Linked DNA regions of Homo sapiens: regions 1, 2, 4, 5 and 6 are each linked to region 3. The links are contacts of gene promoters, found by promoter capture Hi-C in blood cells and fetal thymus (Javierre and others, 2016). All regions are on one chromosome and are shown on one strand. The core of a region is centred on a gene start or on the middle of the fragment in contact, and the rest is flanking DNA. Distances in the headings are between cores, read along the strand shown. Region 1 has its middle 10 kb from the start of TERF1. Region 2 overlaps JPH1 (junctophilin 1). Region 3 holds the start of STAU2 (staufen double-stranded RNA binding protein 2). Region 4 has its middle 9.7 kb from the start of GDAP1. Region 5 overlaps JPH1 (junctophilin 1). Region 6 overlaps GDAP1 (ganglioside induced differentiation associated protein 1).

The links. Contacts are between HindIII fragments. The CHiCAGO score rates a contact against its expected background, and 5 or more counts as called.
Region 1: a fragment that was not itself captured here is called in contact with the fragment with the promoter of STAU2 in region 3 in 1 of 17 cell types (neutrophils); the score reaches 5.9 in neutrophils.
Region 2: a fragment that was not itself captured here is called in contact with the fragment with the promoter of STAU2 in region 3 in 1 of 17 cell types (fetal thymus); the score reaches 6.6 in fetal thymus.
Region 4: a fragment that was not itself captured here is called in contact with the fragment with the promoter of STAU2 in region 3 in 3 of 17 cell types (fetal thymus, M0 macrophages and naive CD4 T cells); the score reaches 7.7 in fetal thymus.
Region 5: a fragment that was not itself captured here is called in contact with the fragment with the promoter of STAU2 in region 3 in 2 of 17 cell types (fetal thymus and M2 macrophages); the score reaches 10.6 in fetal thymus.
Region 6: a fragment that was not itself captured here is called in contact with the fragment with the promoter of STAU2 in region 3 in 1 of 17 cell types (naive CD8 T cells); the score reaches 7.8 in naive CD8 T cells.

Annotation. Positions count from the first base shown.
Region 1 is chr8:72,997,043-72,999,742 of GRCh38, reverse strand. No RefSeq gene overlaps it. Among named protein-coding and RNA genes, the nearest start is that of TERF1, 10 kb to the left of the region's middle. RefSeq lists an enhancer at 2,055-2,666. The HindIII fragment of the contact is 4,004 bases long and covers 1-2,700 here.
Region 2 is chr8:74,300,965-74,303,664 of GRCh38, reverse strand. All of the region lies in intron 2 of JPH1 (junctophilin 1), which reads left to right. Among named protein-coding and RNA genes, the nearest start is that of JPH1, 19 kb to the left of the region's middle. RefSeq lists an enhancer at 2,096-2,597. The HindIII fragment of the contact is 3,913 bases long and covers 1-2,700 here.
Region 3 is chr8:73,745,429-73,748,128 of GRCh38, reverse strand. STAU2 (staufen double-stranded RNA binding protein 2) reads left to right here and starts at 1,289. Exons shown (of 15, transcript NM_001164380.2): 1 at 1,289-1,346. RefSeq lists silencers at 787-1,076, 1,157-1,246, 1,537-1,716, 1,827-1,886. The HindIII fragment of the contact is 14,890 bases long and covers 1-2,700 here.
Region 4 is chr8:74,339,336-74,342,044 of GRCh38, reverse strand. No RefSeq gene overlaps it. Among named protein-coding and RNA genes, the nearest start is that of GDAP1, 9.7 kb to the left of the region's middle. The HindIII fragment of the contact is 588 bases long and covers 1,082-1,669 here.
Region 5 is chr8:74,317,262-74,319,961 of GRCh38, reverse strand. All of the region lies in intron 1 of JPH1 (junctophilin 1), which reads left to right. Among named protein-coding and RNA genes, the nearest start is that of JPH1, 2.9 kb to the left of the region's middle. The HindIII fragment of the contact is 2,218 bases long and covers 296-2,513 here.
Region 6 is chr8:74,360,430-74,363,129 of GRCh38, reverse strand. GDAP1 (ganglioside induced differentiation associated protein 1) reads right to left here. Exons shown (of 6, transcript NM_018972.4): 4 at 1,152-1,246; 5 at 77-191. Among named protein-coding and RNA genes, the nearest start is that of GDAP1, 11 kb to the right of the region's middle. The HindIII fragment of the contact is 1,047 bases long and covers 727-1,773 here.

The DNA of each region.
Region 1 (2,700 bases), core at 199-2,698, 750 kb after region 3:
ATAATGATCATATCAACCACACTGTTTTAGTCTAATTGAGCTGCTATAACAAAATGCCACAGACTGGGACATTTATAAACAATAAAAATGTATTGCTCAAAGTTCTGGAGGCTGGAAAGTCTAAGATCAAGGCACTGATTGTTGAGGTGTTGGTGACAGCCTGTTCTGTTTTTCGAAGATGGTATTTTCTTTTTGTGTTTTTAATTGGCAGAAGGGGCAAGGCAGGAGTTCCCTTCGACTTTTTTTTTTTTTCTTTTTTTGAATAGACCAGGGTCTTGCTATGTTTCCTAGGCTGGTCACAAACTCCTGGGCTCGAGTGACCCTACTTCCTCAGCCTCCCCAATTGCTGGGATTATAGAAATGAGCCACTGTACCCAGCCCAACCTCTTTTATAAGGACACTAATTCCATATACAAGGGTGATGTTCTCATGACTTAATCAGTTCCCAAAAGGCTCTAACTCTTTTTTTTTTGGAGACAGAGTCTTGCTCTGTTGCCCAGGCTGGAGTGCAGTGGCATAATCTCAGATCACTGCAAGCTCTGCCTCTCAGGTTCATGCCATTCTCCTGCCTCAGCCTCCCGAGTAGCTGGGACTACAGGTGCCCACCACCACACCCGGCTGATTTGTTTGTATTTTTAGTAGAGATGGGGTTTCACCGTGTTAGCCAGGATTGTCTTGATCTCCTGACCTCGTGATCCACCTGCCTTGGCCTCCCAAAGTGCTGGGATTACAGGCGTGAGCCACAGCACCCAGCCTGCCCTAACTCTTAATATATCATGCTGGATATTCTGTTCCAACATATGAATTTGAGGGTGACACCACAATTCAGACCATACTGCATACTTAGCATTTATTGCATGTATAATAGTTGCCAGCAACTTTCTCTCTCTCTCTCTTTTTTTTTTTTTTTTTTTTTTTTGAGACAGAGTTTCACTCTTGTTGCCCAGGCTGGAGTGCAATGGCGTGATCTCGGCTCACCACAACCTTCACCTCCCGGGTTCAAGGGATTCTCCTGCCTTAGGCTCCCAAGTAGCTGGGATTACAGGCATGTGCCACCACGCCTAGCTAATTTTGTATTCTTAGTAAAGATGGGTTTTCTCCATGTTGGTCAGGCTGGTCTCAAACTCCCAACCTCAGGTGATCCTCCCACCTTGGCCTCCCAAAGTGCCGGGATTACAGGCGTGAGCCACCGCGCCCGGCCAGGTGACAGCAACTTTCTAACTGTACCATATGTATTAACTCATTTAATCTTCATAGCAAGTTTATCAGGTAGATATTACTATTATCTTATAATTTTGTAAAGGATGAACCTGCAGCACAGAGAGGGTTATTAAATCACCTGAGGTTGGAAAGTGAGAAAGCTAGTTAGCAAGTTAGGGACACACAACTTGAAACCAGACACTCAGATTCCACATTTTCACTCACGTCTGTGTGAAGAGACCACCAAACAGGCTTTGTGTGATCAATAAAGGTTTTTAATCACCTGGGTGCAGGCGGGCTGAGTCCAAAAAGAGAGTCAGCGAAGGCAGATAGGGTAGGGCCGTTTTATAAGATTTGGGTAGGTAAAGGAAAATTACAGTCAAAGGGGTGTTGTTCTCTGGTGGGCAGGAGTGGGGGTCACAAGGTGCTCAGTAGGGGAGCTTTTGAGCTAGGATGAGCCAGGAGAAGGAACTTCACAAGATAATGTCATCACTTAAGGCAAGGACTGGCCATTTTCACTTCTTTTGTGGTGGAATGTCATCAGTTAAGGCAAGGACCGGCCATTTTCGCTTCTTTTGTGGTGGAATGTCATCAGTTAAGGCAAGGAACAGGCCATCTGGATGTATACGTGCAGGTCACAGGGGATATGATGGCTTAGCTTGGGCTCAGAGGCCTGACACACATTATTCTCTTTTCTCCCAATAAGGCCTCCCCAAGGGGAGTAGACATTAGCCAGAGTTCATGTTCCTCGTCTCTGTTCCTTACGGCTGGAGATCCATCTCCTCTTTCTGCTAAATACTTAAAGCCAGAAGCTCTCTTGCATATCAACTTTTGTAGATAAGTGCGTGGGTGTATGAAGCAGGGCTGCCAGATCCTCCCATTTAATGACTTAGGATGTCACACACAGCATGATAAATTATTCTTCGTCACAACAGGATTATTTCAGATGGAAAAGGATAATATTTTGTCTTATTTTAGAGAAGGTTCACGATCCAGAAAAAATATTTTTAACTTGTCTCAGGTCACAGTTGTTGGAATCAGGAGCAAATCTTATTAATAGCTTCTGATGCCAAGGGACAATGAAGTTTTGCATGTAAGAGGATGCTCAAGTTCTGGCCAGTTAAATCTCTGAAAAGAGACAAGAGGACCACTCTCAGCCCCGTTGTGAACCTGGCTGGGGGTCTTAGAAAGCCACGAGGAAGGGGCATTGTGGAGTTCAAGTGCATCAGCAGCAGCAAGTGATTGGTTTATAGGGGTGCTTCTTGTGGTGCTTAGAATTCTTCACGGGGCTTCATCTACATATCATATCGCATTCAGAGCAGGGAGTGACTGCAGGTCCCGCTACTCAGATATGTGACCTTAGACAAGCTAGCAACCTCTTTGCCTTGGTTTCCTTCTTTGTAAAAGGGAGGTCATGATAGAAGATATTGCATAGAGTTGCTGTGAGGATTCAATGATTTAAAGAAAGCACTTATAAGTGCTCAATAATATCAGCTACTG
Region 2 (2,700 bases), core at 69-2,568, 560 kb before region 3:
CTGCAGTGAGCTATGATCACGCCACTGCATTCCATCTTGGGTGACAGAGCAAGACCCTGTCTCTAAAAATAAAAAAATAGTTATCTGCTAACTAGTGATCTAAGTGATAGCCTATGTGTTGGGCTAAGCTGTGGCAGTGGGATGGAAAGAAGCAAATGATTGAATGAGAGCCTCCCAAGCAGATTCACTAGGACCTGTGGCTGGTTGAGTTAAGCATGGTAAGCCTAGAAAAGGAGTCATCAGAGTGGCTCCAAGTTCCTGGCTTAGCCAACTAATGGATGGTGGTACTGTTTACTCAGAAGGATACCAGACAGGAAGGGACAGATTTAGGGAGGAAGATAAGTTTGGATTTTTGGCTTCTTGAATTTCAAGATGCTAGCCTAAAAGATAATGGGGGAAGATGTATTTGGAACTCAGAGATTTGAGCTGTGCTTGCAGAGCTTGGAGCCAAACCCTGGGAAAGACTTACGGGACATGCAGAGAAAGAGGAAATCCTTGTATGTAATACTAGACACAGCTCTTTTTAAGAAGTACAAGTAAAGCAGTTCTCACATTAAGTGACTAGGAATTTGTTGCCTTATGACAATGCAATTCAGGTATCTGAATTTCTATTCTTGAATTTGTGAAGTTATGCTTTCTAAGGTTTGTGCTCAAGGGACCTACCCAGTGAGCAAGCTCTGTTGGACTGTTTTTTTTTTTTTTTTTCTTTTCTTGGCAACCTACTGGAACAAAATATCACTCTCACAAATTATTATGCTAAAGAAACATCATTTGGCAAACATTTATTTAGTGCCAGCTCTGTCCAAATATGGCACTAGGCCCTGGGAATACAGAGATGAATAAGAAACAAAACCTGTCATTAAAAGCAAATACCCTACCAGGTTCACAGTACCTTTGTGCAACTGGCAGGTGCTATGAGGCTGCAGGTTGGAGGGACCCACTGAGAGGCACCTATGACCCATCCTGGGTGAGCTTGTCACAGGCACTTTCCTGGAGCTCTTTGCACCAGCAACACTCCTTGCCTGAATGCCTTCTCCCATGTCCCCCTCCTTGCCTAAGCCCTGTCAGTCCTTAGCGATTACACTCAAGTTCCATAGCAGGCATGGACTGCATTAAGAAATAAAATGTCTCTTCCAATAAGTAATTTTACACCTGATAACAGGAATGCTATCAATAGAGCATAGAAAATATATGTACAAATTTTATAATGCAAAAGGGAAAATTACTAGTGGTTTCTTTAAAAAGTTTAAAAAATTATTTCTACCTAGAGTCCATAAGATACAATTTTGGGTGGTAGCAGGATCTTATTAGCAGTATTTGTGTACAGAAACATTAAAGTTAGCAATTTGCAGTAAATGAATGTTTTGGCAGTGTTTCCAGATAAGGAAACAATGTAGATGCTGCTAGGTTTCCCTAAGGAAACAATGTAGATGCTGCTAGGTTTCCCCTAAGTGTGTTATGCACTGGTGCACATTGTTCTCTTCTTGTGGTCTGAGGTCAGTAATTTGGGTGATACCTTTTGGCTACACACAAAAAGACCCAACAGGTCTTGAGTGGTTACCTGCTGTGTGAATTTGACATCTGTCATCTCCTCTCATCCCCATGGCAACCCTGTGAGTTGGTAGGAAACTGAGGCATAGGAAATTCACATGGCAAGCACACGGCAGCGTCAGAGCCCCAAGCCCTTCCCCTCCACTGGGTTTTGAGAATTGGGATAGGAATTTTTTTTGAACCCATGTACCCTGCTTAGGCTCATAAAAGAAGATCTGTCTGGGAACAGTATTATTTAGTCATAGACTTCATTTGGCCACTGTTTCATTTAACAGACATTGTTCATTCAACAGCCACAAATCTTGTGAGCCAAACAATCATAAAAAGATAAGGTCAGTATAACATGGTAAATTCTAAGAAAAAAACCATGACAGTGCAAAAGAGGGAAGAACACTGAGGGCATATGGGGCTTACAGGGATGAGGCTGAGCCTGTGCAGGTGAAGAATGAGTGGAAGTTAGGGAGCAAACAGTGGCCAGTGTTGCATATTGGAGGAAGATCCTGAGCAAAGGTGGAGTGGAATGAAAGTGTACAGTGTGAGTTCCTGCAAGCAGTTGGATAGTGGAAGAACGCTTTCTCCAGGAGCGATCTGTCCGCCCACTGCAGCAGATCACAAGGGGTGCTTAAAATTCTCTAGTCCTCCACCCAGTACTGAATTAATGTTTCTTTGCATAAGGTCCAGAAACTTGCATTTGTTACAGACTTCTCAGGTTATTCTTGGGCACACTAAAATTTGGAAAGTGCATCGGGAGGATATGATAAGAAACAAAATTCCCAAGGTTTGGGAGCTGCATTTTCTGCTTTTGGCTTTGGGGAGTCTTCAAAGGCATTTGAGAAGGGAGCCATCTGCCTTTGAATGGATGGTCTGCCTGCTTCATGGAGAAAGAATTTAAGTGGGGCCAGGACCGGAGGCCTGGTCTGTGGAGGAGGTGATAAAAGACCCTGGTTGAGGGCAGGGTGGCAGAGACAAAAGGGATAAAATTAGCAGGACTTGATGGACTGCAAGTAGTGGGTTAGGAACAGAGGCAAGTCTGAGATGTTGTGTGGATGATACTCTAATACCCCTATTAAGGTTAATGAAAAAGGTTCATTCATTCCCAGTATATGGGTGATAAATTATTCAATTAGAAAATGTAGTGATTCATTCCCG
Region 3 (2,700 bases), core at 40-2,539:
TCTCCTCTTGATGCACAGGATAAGTAACATGCCCGTGGTCTCCTCACCAGTTAGCAAGCGGATATCCAGCCTTGGTTATCTGACTCTGGCGCCCTTGCGGTTAACCAGGACACACACTACCTTCCCAGGTGCAGACATGAGATTGGTTTTAGATGATGACTGAAATCACCGGCCTGGGAGACATTTCTCAGTCAGAGAAGTGACACTGGGAAGAAACCCTAGAAATAACGTTGCAAACGAGTAAGTTTGTGAAAACACACTAATAGTTCTATTTCGAAATTTCTTTGTCAGATTATTTTTGGTGCCGGTTACTAAACGAAGTGTTCAGTTTCATTGAGCTTAACTGGGTTGAAGTTATCTAGACAAAAGTAATCCACATCAAAACCAGGACGAATTAAGACGTAATTTCTGTTTTCTGGCACTCTTGCCTCATAAATCTAGGATTCAGGGCATTGTTTTCAATGGTTCTCATTTTTGGCTCCAAGGATTCTTTTTCATGTGACTAATATTTTCGGTAGAAGAGGAGGTCTGGCCACGCCGCGGGTCTTGGCGAGCAGGTGATCACGGATCCCTGGTGTTTGCTGGGCGAGACGGTGAAGCAACCTCCTCCCCGCCCCCTCCCCCGTCTAGAAAGGTGCAAGATCCGCTAAACCGTGCGTTGCACAGCGGCGGCCGGAGCAGACGCGGGATGGTCGCGCGTCCCCTGCACAGCACAGAGGGGCAGCCGGAGAGCCTGGGAAAGGTACGAGCGGGGAATCAGAGCACAGGGTGCGGACCAGAAAGAGCAGACGGTCAGTCGGGCGGGGAAGGAAGTTGCCGAGTTGCAGGTGTGGAAGGGGCTGCCCCAGGCCCACCCTTGGCAGACGAGGGGGCGGGGAGTCGCGCCGGGGACGAGGAGACTGCGGACCGGGCGCGCTCCTTGCGCAGTCGCTCGCCCGCGTGCCCAAGCCCCCCGGGAATGGCCCTCGCCCAGGGGCCCAGCTCGCCGCCGCTAGCCCCGCAGAGCCTGCAGCTGCTGGGGCCCGGCAGCCGCCAGGGGGCGGGAGCTGCGTCGCGAACAATGGCCGCGCTTGGTCGCGGGCCGGCGGGAGGCGGAGTGGAGGTAGAGCCGGTGCCGGGCGCGCGCGCCGGCCGGGCGTGCTGGGGCGCGGGAGCGGCTGCGCAGGCGGGGGCGCGCGGCGCGAGCGCGGGAGGGCGCGGCGGGAGCGCCGGGGAGGCGGGCGGAGGCGGGCGGAGGCGGGGGGCGGGGAGCCCGAGGGGTGGAAGCCGGCGGCGGCCGAGCGGGGTCAGTTCTCTGTAGTGTTTGCCAATGTTGGAGCCGTCTGCAAAGTGTCCCCGGCAAGAAGGTAAATACCCTCATCGGGGGCGTCCGGGAGACCCCGACTTCCGCGCCGCCGGCGAAGAAGGCAGAGGGCGCTGGGGAGCCCTGCAGTTCCGCAGCACGGGGAACCCGGAGAAAAGCAGCCCCCTTCGCGGCCTCCCCTCCCCCGCGCCTTCCCTCCCACATCGGGCTCTCGGGGCAGCAGCGGGGAGGGGAGACCGGCGGGGGAGGGAGGACAGGGAGGCGAAGGAATTGGGGTGGGGGGTGCGTGTGTGGTGGAGGGGGTGGGACGACACAGGTGTCCTGAGGGGAGGAGCCGGGAGGAAGGCGAGGAGGCCGGGCCAAGTGGGGGTGCGGAGGTCGGGGAGACAGGAACGCGGCTGCGGGCGCGGGAGGCTGGGGTTCTAGGGGGCCGGGGTGGTAGCGGCCGGAAGAGAGGACGGCGAGTGCAGCCACGGTGTGGCTGCGAGGGAGAGGGAGCGCCTAGAGTAGGGCAGGGGAGGGCGGCCCGGGGAGGGTCTGCGGGAAATGGGCCTGGGGGCGCTGGAGGCGGAGCGGCGGGGCCGGGGCGCGCCGGAGGGTGGCGGCGGCAGCTATTTCTGTAGAATGGGCTAGTGGTAAAGACGTAACTTGCCGAAATGGGGAGGGTAGGTGGGGCCGAGGGGACAAAATATATCCTATGACAGGCAAGTTCTGCTGTGGCTGTTACGAACTCCTACCGTGATGGCTCGGCTTAAAGGGGTAGTTGGCGGTAGTGACCTTGCCGGGGTGAAGGGAGTTGGGCGAGGAGACAAAGCTCAGTTACGGAATCCGCTGTGTGAGAGCAGGAACTCTAGTCTCTTCGGGGTCGAGCCGGGGGCTGTGGCTTGGGGGCTGGGGGTGCTCCGCAGAGGCCATTGAGAAGCACGCCACTCTGGGATTCTTAGGGAGGCGGTGGGGGTAATGGCCGTGGGATTCTGGAAGTCTTTGGAAATGTGTGTAGAATTTTGCATTTGTGAATAATTTTCTTTGGTAAGGGTCCATATTTGCTGTGATGTCCCCTTACCCCCATCCCCACTCCAAAGGGTTAAGAACTGCTTGAGCAGATAGAGAGGGACCATTCAATTAGGGTAGACCTGGGAATTTACCAAAGGATTTTAAAGTGGGTGGATCCTGCAGAAAGAAAGGCTAGAGATGATCCTTTAAAGATATTTTACTGTTAATTGAAAACGTTTTTTATTTAATGTTTGCTTTCACAATTTTGGTGAACTTTTGCTGAGCATTACTTGGCTTCTGATGCATCCTGTGTTTCAGACCAGCATCGTGAATACTTGAAATCAAAATTGTGATGGACAGGCAGGGTGATAGTAACCTTGGAGGAGAAAAGATTTCAACATTTC
Region 4 (2,709 bases), core at 126-2,625, 590 kb before region 3:
TCCTCATCTATAATCCAGGTAAAGTAATTACACCACCTTTATTGGGATATTTTGAGGATTCATTGTGATTTTTAACATGTTAACTAACACAATTTTAGCACATGGCACATAAGAAGTATAATAGATAATAATGATAGAATGGTAAAAATAACTGACTTTTTGAATACTCTGGGTAAATGTCAGCTAATAATGTGTTCTCCAGTGTATCCTGCCAGATTGGCTGCACTCTGTAACTTCATTTTTGGCAATTCTCTCTAATGGTTTACAATGAATTTTAGGTATTTATACTTCAAAAATACATGTGAAATAATCACCACTAGCTGGAAATTACAGTTGATGAAAGAAATAACAAATAATAAAAATTCTTAAATACTACTCATATTTCCACAGATTCTTTTCTTGACTTCATGCTAAGCCTGTTGAAAATCATTAAAAGAACATCTCAATGGTTATATTAATATTCTGCAAAAATCACTTATAGTATGAAAGTAAGAAAAATCTAGGAGAAAAAAAGGAGGCACTTCCCACTGTCATCCAATATTTGAATAAAACTAATAGTATCACAAACATTTGTCTTATTAAGAATAATTAAGAGTTATATTTATAAATGCAACTATAAAAGCCTGTAGGATATTTTAGACACAATCTTAGAAACGCACACTGCACAGAGGATACTTAATGCTTAGGTTTGAAATTGCAGCTTTTAATTAGTTATATTTCCTAAAGTTAAGTGCTTTCTTACTAATTTAAAATGTGTTTCTGTACATTTTAACTATCCTCTCAGTGGAGAGTGCCTTTTTCTTGCTATTTCCCAGTAAATGATTCAAGTAGTCTTCCTGGACATCTTATTTTATCATTCTCTTTTCATATTTAAAGGAATCTTTCCAGAGACTTAAGATCATTTGGAATATAGCTTTGTCATTCAAATTAGAGTATTTAAGAATACACTGGAATTTATTTTTCAAACATCCTTGCTGTTGTGTTCTTTTCGTCACTAAATAATACACAGAAAAGTTAATTTATGTCTGCATTGTCTCTGGCTACGTGAGAAACACGGCATAAAAACTCAGAGACATAAGCTTTAAAGAAAGAAAATGCTAATGTTGCAAAGGTTTCTCTAAGTAAGATTTTGCTTTGTAACTGTATAAATAGGGCAAGTTAAAGTTCTGGGCAGCAGCAGACAATGAGCAGCAATAATCATTTATGTTTCTTTGGCACCAGCTTCAACACACTGGTATGATTTTTTTTTTCTTAACCACCCGTTACCAAGGACAGTGACAGCACAAATATGAGAATGATTACAGTACTATAAAAACATACTTCACTTACCTTGTTTGTCTTAATAAGATCCTAAAGAAGCATAAGATAACAGTGACAATAGAATATAGTGCTGAATTTTACAGAGACACCAAAGTGTAAAACAACATTGGCTTTCACTTAAGTACTATATTTTTCAAATAAAAGTAATATTGCAATCCATAAAGAAAAGATCAATTTAAATCCTCAGTATGTAATTGAAACAAATGAAAGCACGGAGTTGAGTCTGTGGTTACTAAAGTTCCATGAGAGAAAGGGGTGATGTGGCCAAAGTGAACCTGCTTCCAGGGATTCCCTGCGGGGACAGGTTGGAAAAGTCGGTGAACCACAAAGATGGCAGAGCGGAAAAGCTTCACTTTATGAAACTGCATCATTTTGGAGCAGGGAAGTTTAACAGAAAAAAGGGAAACTGGTCAAATTCAGGTGATGCCTTGGTTTCCAAAGCACATATGAAGAATCAGCTACATATGTTAGCTTGAAAACTATTCAGCCTAAGAGACTCCTGCTGTATGCAAGTTATGAAAATGCATAAGCCCCATCCTACCAGTTTCAAGTGGCAAAAGAAGATGGTAAAAACACAACTCCCCAGAGATATGGACATTTAGTATATGAAATTGGAATATATATGAAAATAGAGAGATGAAGTTGAGGCATCTAGAGCCTTAATGGCTAAAATCCAGTGGCTTGGTCTGGAAGGGAAGCCTTGATGAGTTTTGAAGGGAGATATTCCTTCCTGTTAGACTTCCCAGAGCAAAGGTGCTGATTCTGTGCAAAGAAGTCACTGAAATCTGATGGGCCCTCTTTAAATAACTGATGATCAATGAGAGCCCTCTTTTTTACCTTCCTGATTACATCTGGGCCTTCACGGCTGTGGCAGCTGCAGACAACAGCAAGTTCTCAGGCAGACATGCAGGGAAGTTCTCAGCTCCGCTCTCAAGAGCCCTGAGCCAGTTGTCCTGAAAGCTGATTTAGAATGTCCTCCCCTGTGGCCAAGAGGGTGCCAAGCCCCTTCTAGCTCTGAGTTGGGGTCTAGACCCTATGCCCTGTTTCTTTCTGTGCTAAGTCACAGCTCTGAAATCAGCACCAACTTTTGTACACGTTGCTTCCAAAGCCCTGAGCCACCCCTCATAGCAGTGGGCCTGCTGGGTGCCGTAAATGTGATCCTGTCTGTCGTTTTAGCCTCAGCAGAAGAGCGACATGACCATATTTATTGCTGTTGCTATTCTGGGGGGTGGATGACGTTTTTCTCCCCTTGTGGCTGAGCCCTGCCTGTTCATCTTTCACCACTCCCTCCAAGTCTACAAGACTAAAACCAGTGATACAAATAGATTCTATCAGGAGGAAAGTTAAAATGAGAAGTTCTTAGGCATTTCCAAATCTATCTGCTGTATG
Region 5 (2,700 bases), core at 155-2,654, 570 kb before region 3:
TATACCAGGACAGAAGTTCCTCTTTTATTAGGAAAAGTATACATTATTGAAACAGGTGTCAAAACCTGATGAATTTCCTTGTGTAATACGCTGAGAAAGATATTCATGAATAGCTTATGCTTTAGCAAAGTGCATTTCCTGATAAACATAATCATATTTAGTTGAAAAGGGTTGTAGGAGGCGACATCACTTTTTGGAATTAAGCAGCTCAGAGTTGGAGGATATTAAAGGGATGCAATTAAAAGTTTCTCCAGCCCACTGCAACCCCATTTATACCATTGCTTATATAAAAGCTTACACAATTTGTACACTTCACTTAGTCAGAACACTTGGGCCGTGTTTCAAATGCAAAATGGCAGAATGGTAGAACTTGCTAAAAAGGACATCTTTTCATCCTACAGTATAAATTAAGCATATGGTTCTCATGGATTAAAAGAAAAAAACGTTCTCTAATAGTTTTATGTGGGGCTGAGTCCCGAGTTTCACAGTAGTTAATTGGGACCCTTAAATGTTCTGAATGGGCATAAAGTACCTGGTTGACAGCGCTGTAAATATGTCAGTTTGTGACTGGATTTTGTTGGAGGCCCCAGCTCTACTATATAACTAAATTCCATGCTCAAAAGTAGAAGGCAAAATTTATTGTTTTAAATGTGTGCATTATTTTATAATCTTTTAAGAAGGCCAGGGATGGTTCTCTTCAGTTTTGGAAGGTTAAAAATCGTCTCCTTTTAAAGATACTATTCATTAAACACACTCTCTTGGTTTAGAGTATTCATTATACCTAGTAATCAAAATATATATAGCACAGTAGAGGCTGTCTGTGTACATGTCGTAGAAACCCAAATAAGTCTCCAGAATGATTTTATGAATAATCTGCCTTCAGTTTTAAAATAAACTTAAAAAAAAACTTAAAACTTGGCATCATCCTGGGTGGTACTGTGGTTTTCTTCTTCTACCAAAAAAAAAAATCTAATATGCTACAGTTAGGAAGAAAAACCTTAAAAATCACTACTGAATGTCTACTCTATGCTAATAGATTTTCTACTGTCTCATATGTAACTATTTCATTAGAAAGTTCTCAATCATAAAAAGGGAGTCTAAAGCAAGTTTATTGCTGTAACTTATTTCATACAAAGGTTTTGGCCAAAATAGGAATATCACTAAAAAATTAGCTTGTTTTCTGCTGTTCTCACTAAGGAGTTAGCTTGTTTTTGTTTGCACTCTCCCCATCGCCACATGTCCATCCCTGTACACCCTGTATCAGATTCAGGGAAAATCTGATTCCGAGTTTTTTTGTGGTGACATTAAACTGGAGGAGGAAGGAAGCAGTAATTCCATGTGAGACGTATCACTTATTTTATTAGTGATTTGTGTATTACATGTTGCTGAAATAGAAACCCCCTGAATATTAACAATAAGTTAGTATCATACTCATGAAATCCAAGTCTAGGTGCCCAGAATTTTTTGTGCTAATTCTGATCTGTACTTTGTTTTTTCACTTGTCATAAAACTATTGAAAATATCTGGGAAAACACAACGTTTTGTTAACTAGATGCATACTTGCACATACCCATTCGGAGCATATAAACTGAAGTTTGGCATAGTGCAGTGCAAATTTGACTGAAACTCCTAAACTGGATGCCTTCCACTACAAGATTGTGTAGTTAAAATGACTAAATCTAAAAAATTAGCTCCCAAATGAACACAGTTTAAAACTGGTAAAAGTAATTTTTATACTTGTGAAATATGCATCTACATTTTAGGAATCAAGAGGAACTAATTAGAACTTTATTTGAGCAGCAGGGAGAAGTTGGAACCCACCTGCTTCATAAAGAAATAGGCCCTTTCTTATTCTAGGTTCATTGACTAAACTAAACCTATTTTAAATTTCAGATGAACTGCTAACAGTTTGACTGCAAATTGGTTTCTAGCAATTCTGTGGAGGAATTCTTTCATATACTGTGATTTAACAAAATAGGAGAGGAATGTGGCCAATGCTCTTGTCCCCCCCTTCCCTATTTGACAGTTAAGCAGAGACTTAAACTTTCTAATTATTGCTGTTGCCTTAAACAGCTTGGATTTTCAAGCCATACTTTTTTGGAAATTCTAAATACTGTACTAGTCTTATTTTTGGAGATAACAGTTTAAAGAAACTAGCTGTTAATTTTCCATCAGTGTTAAACATTTACCAAGATGGTATGGCTGTGTTTTAAAAGTGCAGATACTTATTGATATCAAACAGCATCTCTGCAAATTGTTCTAGCAAAATTAACTTGTCACTATAGACAAAAGTTAGGAGGATGTGATTATAGCATTCTTTTAACCAACAAAATATTAAAAATAAGGTGGTTTATTTTAGTATCTTCAAGCCAGATTGTGAAACTTTCATCCTAGAATTTAAATTTTACCTGTATAGGCAAAGGAAAAGTCAAAGTCAAAATTTCCTAATAATTCCATTCCCATTCCTGTTAAGATGGCGGTATTTGGAGATGGCCAGTATTCAATAGGAAGCTTCTTAGCCTGAAATGTTTTACATGACTATCTTATCCTCTTGAGTTAATCTTTCAGAGAAAACTGTGGGCCACCCACCTCCTCAGAAGTTCATAGATGTCAAGTTAAGACTTCACATCTACCCAGAATATGACATTTACAGTACCAGACCCACTTAGTATTTCATTGTATATCTACTATTGCCTGTGT
Region 6 (2,700 bases), core at 1-2,500, 620 kb before region 3:
TTTGGTGAGACCTAAGAATGTTCCCATGAATAATACTGATGTTGAAAAGAGAGAAAGAATATAAATGAGAACCTACCTGGGGTTTCTTCATTTCTTCTTTGCAATTCAGTTTCAACCTGATCCAAGACTTTCTCCAACTCATCAAGAATTTTCTTCAAATACTTGACATTGTCATGATCAAGCAGCTTTGACTAATTAACCACCAAAAAAAGAAACCAAACATATTATTTGCACCTTTAAAAAAAATAAATCTAGGTAAAGCAGATACAAACTCTTACAGAGTTCAGCCTATTTTAGACAACGAGAAGAAATAGAAAAACTCAGCAAAAAAAAAAAAAAAAAAAAGAGAGAGAGAGAGCTAAGTTGAAGGGAAATATCCCAGCTGTGAAAATGACCCAGGAGCAGACCCACCACTCACTGGCAGCTCCTATGAGGCCAGATGACCACAGAAGGCAAAGAATGGGAGGGACACGAAGAGCCATCTGCCAAGCCCAACTCAGGAAAAGAATTCTAGCAGCCGTAATTGAAAGAGTAGCTGAAGGGTCAGGGATGAGTAAGAAGTCCGAGTGAAGGAGTTAAACGGCGAGTGGAGAGTCAGTCAAGTGACTGTGAGTGCAGGTGTTTCTTCTGAGGAGCTCGTTTAGCTACGATAGGATAAAGGAAGGTGGGAAGTTGGGGAGGGTTGGGAGTGCTGCTGTTTTCTACACTTTTAATATGAGAGAAGCTTGCAATAGTTGCTGGGCCCGGGGAAGGAATCAACAGAAGGAGAAAGGCTGACCATAAAGCACACTCCTCAGGGGGCAAAGCAAGTCAGGGCGACACATGGAGGGATGTAGGTCTAGCGAGGACTTCCAGTGGTGGAATACCTGAAATGACAGATTCTAGAATATGTTATGAACTTCCTTTGCATTTCATAACTTTTTTGGCAACCAGCATGCTCAATATCTGCTTGTTAAGCACTTGTCATCAAGTTTCAATATCAAGTCTAATAAAAAATTCTTTCTAAAAGGAGAACATAAGCCAAAGGTAACATGTGTACTGGTGAACTGCAATATTTAAAAGAAGATATTCTAGAAATAGTGGTACTTTACAAAAAGTAGAACATTTACTCCGTGCAGTGTATGTCAACTGAGGACAGCTGATTGGCTTACTTTAAGTCGTTTCTGTTTTGCAATGTATGCTTCTTGTAAATCTGGGTTTTCTTCAGCAAGTTTCTTCAGCTCAGACTCTGTGTTTCCAATTTGGCCTGATAATAAAAACATTTTGGAAACAGAAAATTATTTTCTCCCTTCTACACCAGTAACAAGGAGAAGCAGAGAAACTCAATGACAAGAGCATGAGCTCTGGGGCTCATGCCCTGCTTCTCTGCCTTGGGCTTACCCTGTCTATGCCTCAGTTTCCTCACCTTTCAAATGGAACCATAAGAGTATCTGCCGGCTGGGCGCGGTGGCTCACACCTGTAATCCCAGCACTTTGGGAGGCCGAGGCGGGAGGATCAGGAGGTCAAGAGATCGAGACCATCTTGGCCAACGTGGTGAAACCCCGTCTCTACTAAAAATACAAAAATTGTCTGGGCGTGGTGGCGCATGCCTGTCATCCCAGCTACTCGGGAGGCTGAGGCAGGAGAATCACTTGAACTCAGGAAGCAGAGGTTGCAGTGAGCCGAGATGATGCCACTGCACGCCAGCATGGAAACAGAGCGAGACTCCATCCAAAAAAAAAAAGAAAAGAAAAAAACAAAGAATATCTGCCATGAAGACTAAATGAGAAGCTTCATGGGAAGCACTTAGAGCAAGGCCCAGCACTTTACAGTGCTCAGTGCAGGCTTGCTGCTCCGCCTTCCTCTACCTTTCAAGCTTTCTATAATGAACTCCTATATGAAGGGAGGAAAAAGCCTTATTTTTAAAAAATATTAACTATAGGTCATAGAATTATAGTCAAAACTCTTGTTTCAAATACTATAAAGGGTATTTATGAAGAGGAGGAGGAATAAGAGGAAAGAGAAGCAGGAAGAGAGGGCAGTGGAGAAAAAGGAAGAGAAGGGAGAAAAGGGAAGAGATGAAAAGGGAAGGGAGAGGAGAGGAAAAGGAGGGGTATCAAAAAGGAAAAAAAGAATAATAAGAATAATAAAGGTGAGTATCACATAATGGGGAACACATGGTTTCTGGATTTAGAAGATCTGAGTTTGAGTGTTTCTGATCAACATTCCCAAAGTGTGACCACTGCCACAATCCTTTCCCTTCTTATCTCCAATTATCTCTGCTATAAAGCACACCTCCTGCTCCACAGATCATGCACTGACTATTCTCATGACAGGAGGAAGGCAGAAAGCTGGATGTCACAACTCAATCCCAATAAATCTACTATCACTGAACATAGAGACAGAGTAATAGTTAGACACCCTCTAGTCCAGTTTCCTCAAATAACGAAAACAACAATTAAGGACCAGTAACATGAACTCAACTGCCCATAATCCTAGGCAGATCCCAGGTTTTCAGATTCCTAGTCCATCTGTTCATGAGAACATGTTATATTCTTTACTCTTCCATAATCCACTCTTCTGAGTTTTACCCAAGATTGGCCCTCAAAGCCAAGAGCTGATAAATCAGGTCCTATAGACAATAAATGTCCAATTGAGCAAGTGAAGCACAGATTAATCCGACTGGTTCATGGATCGATCCATAACATGCACATCCATGA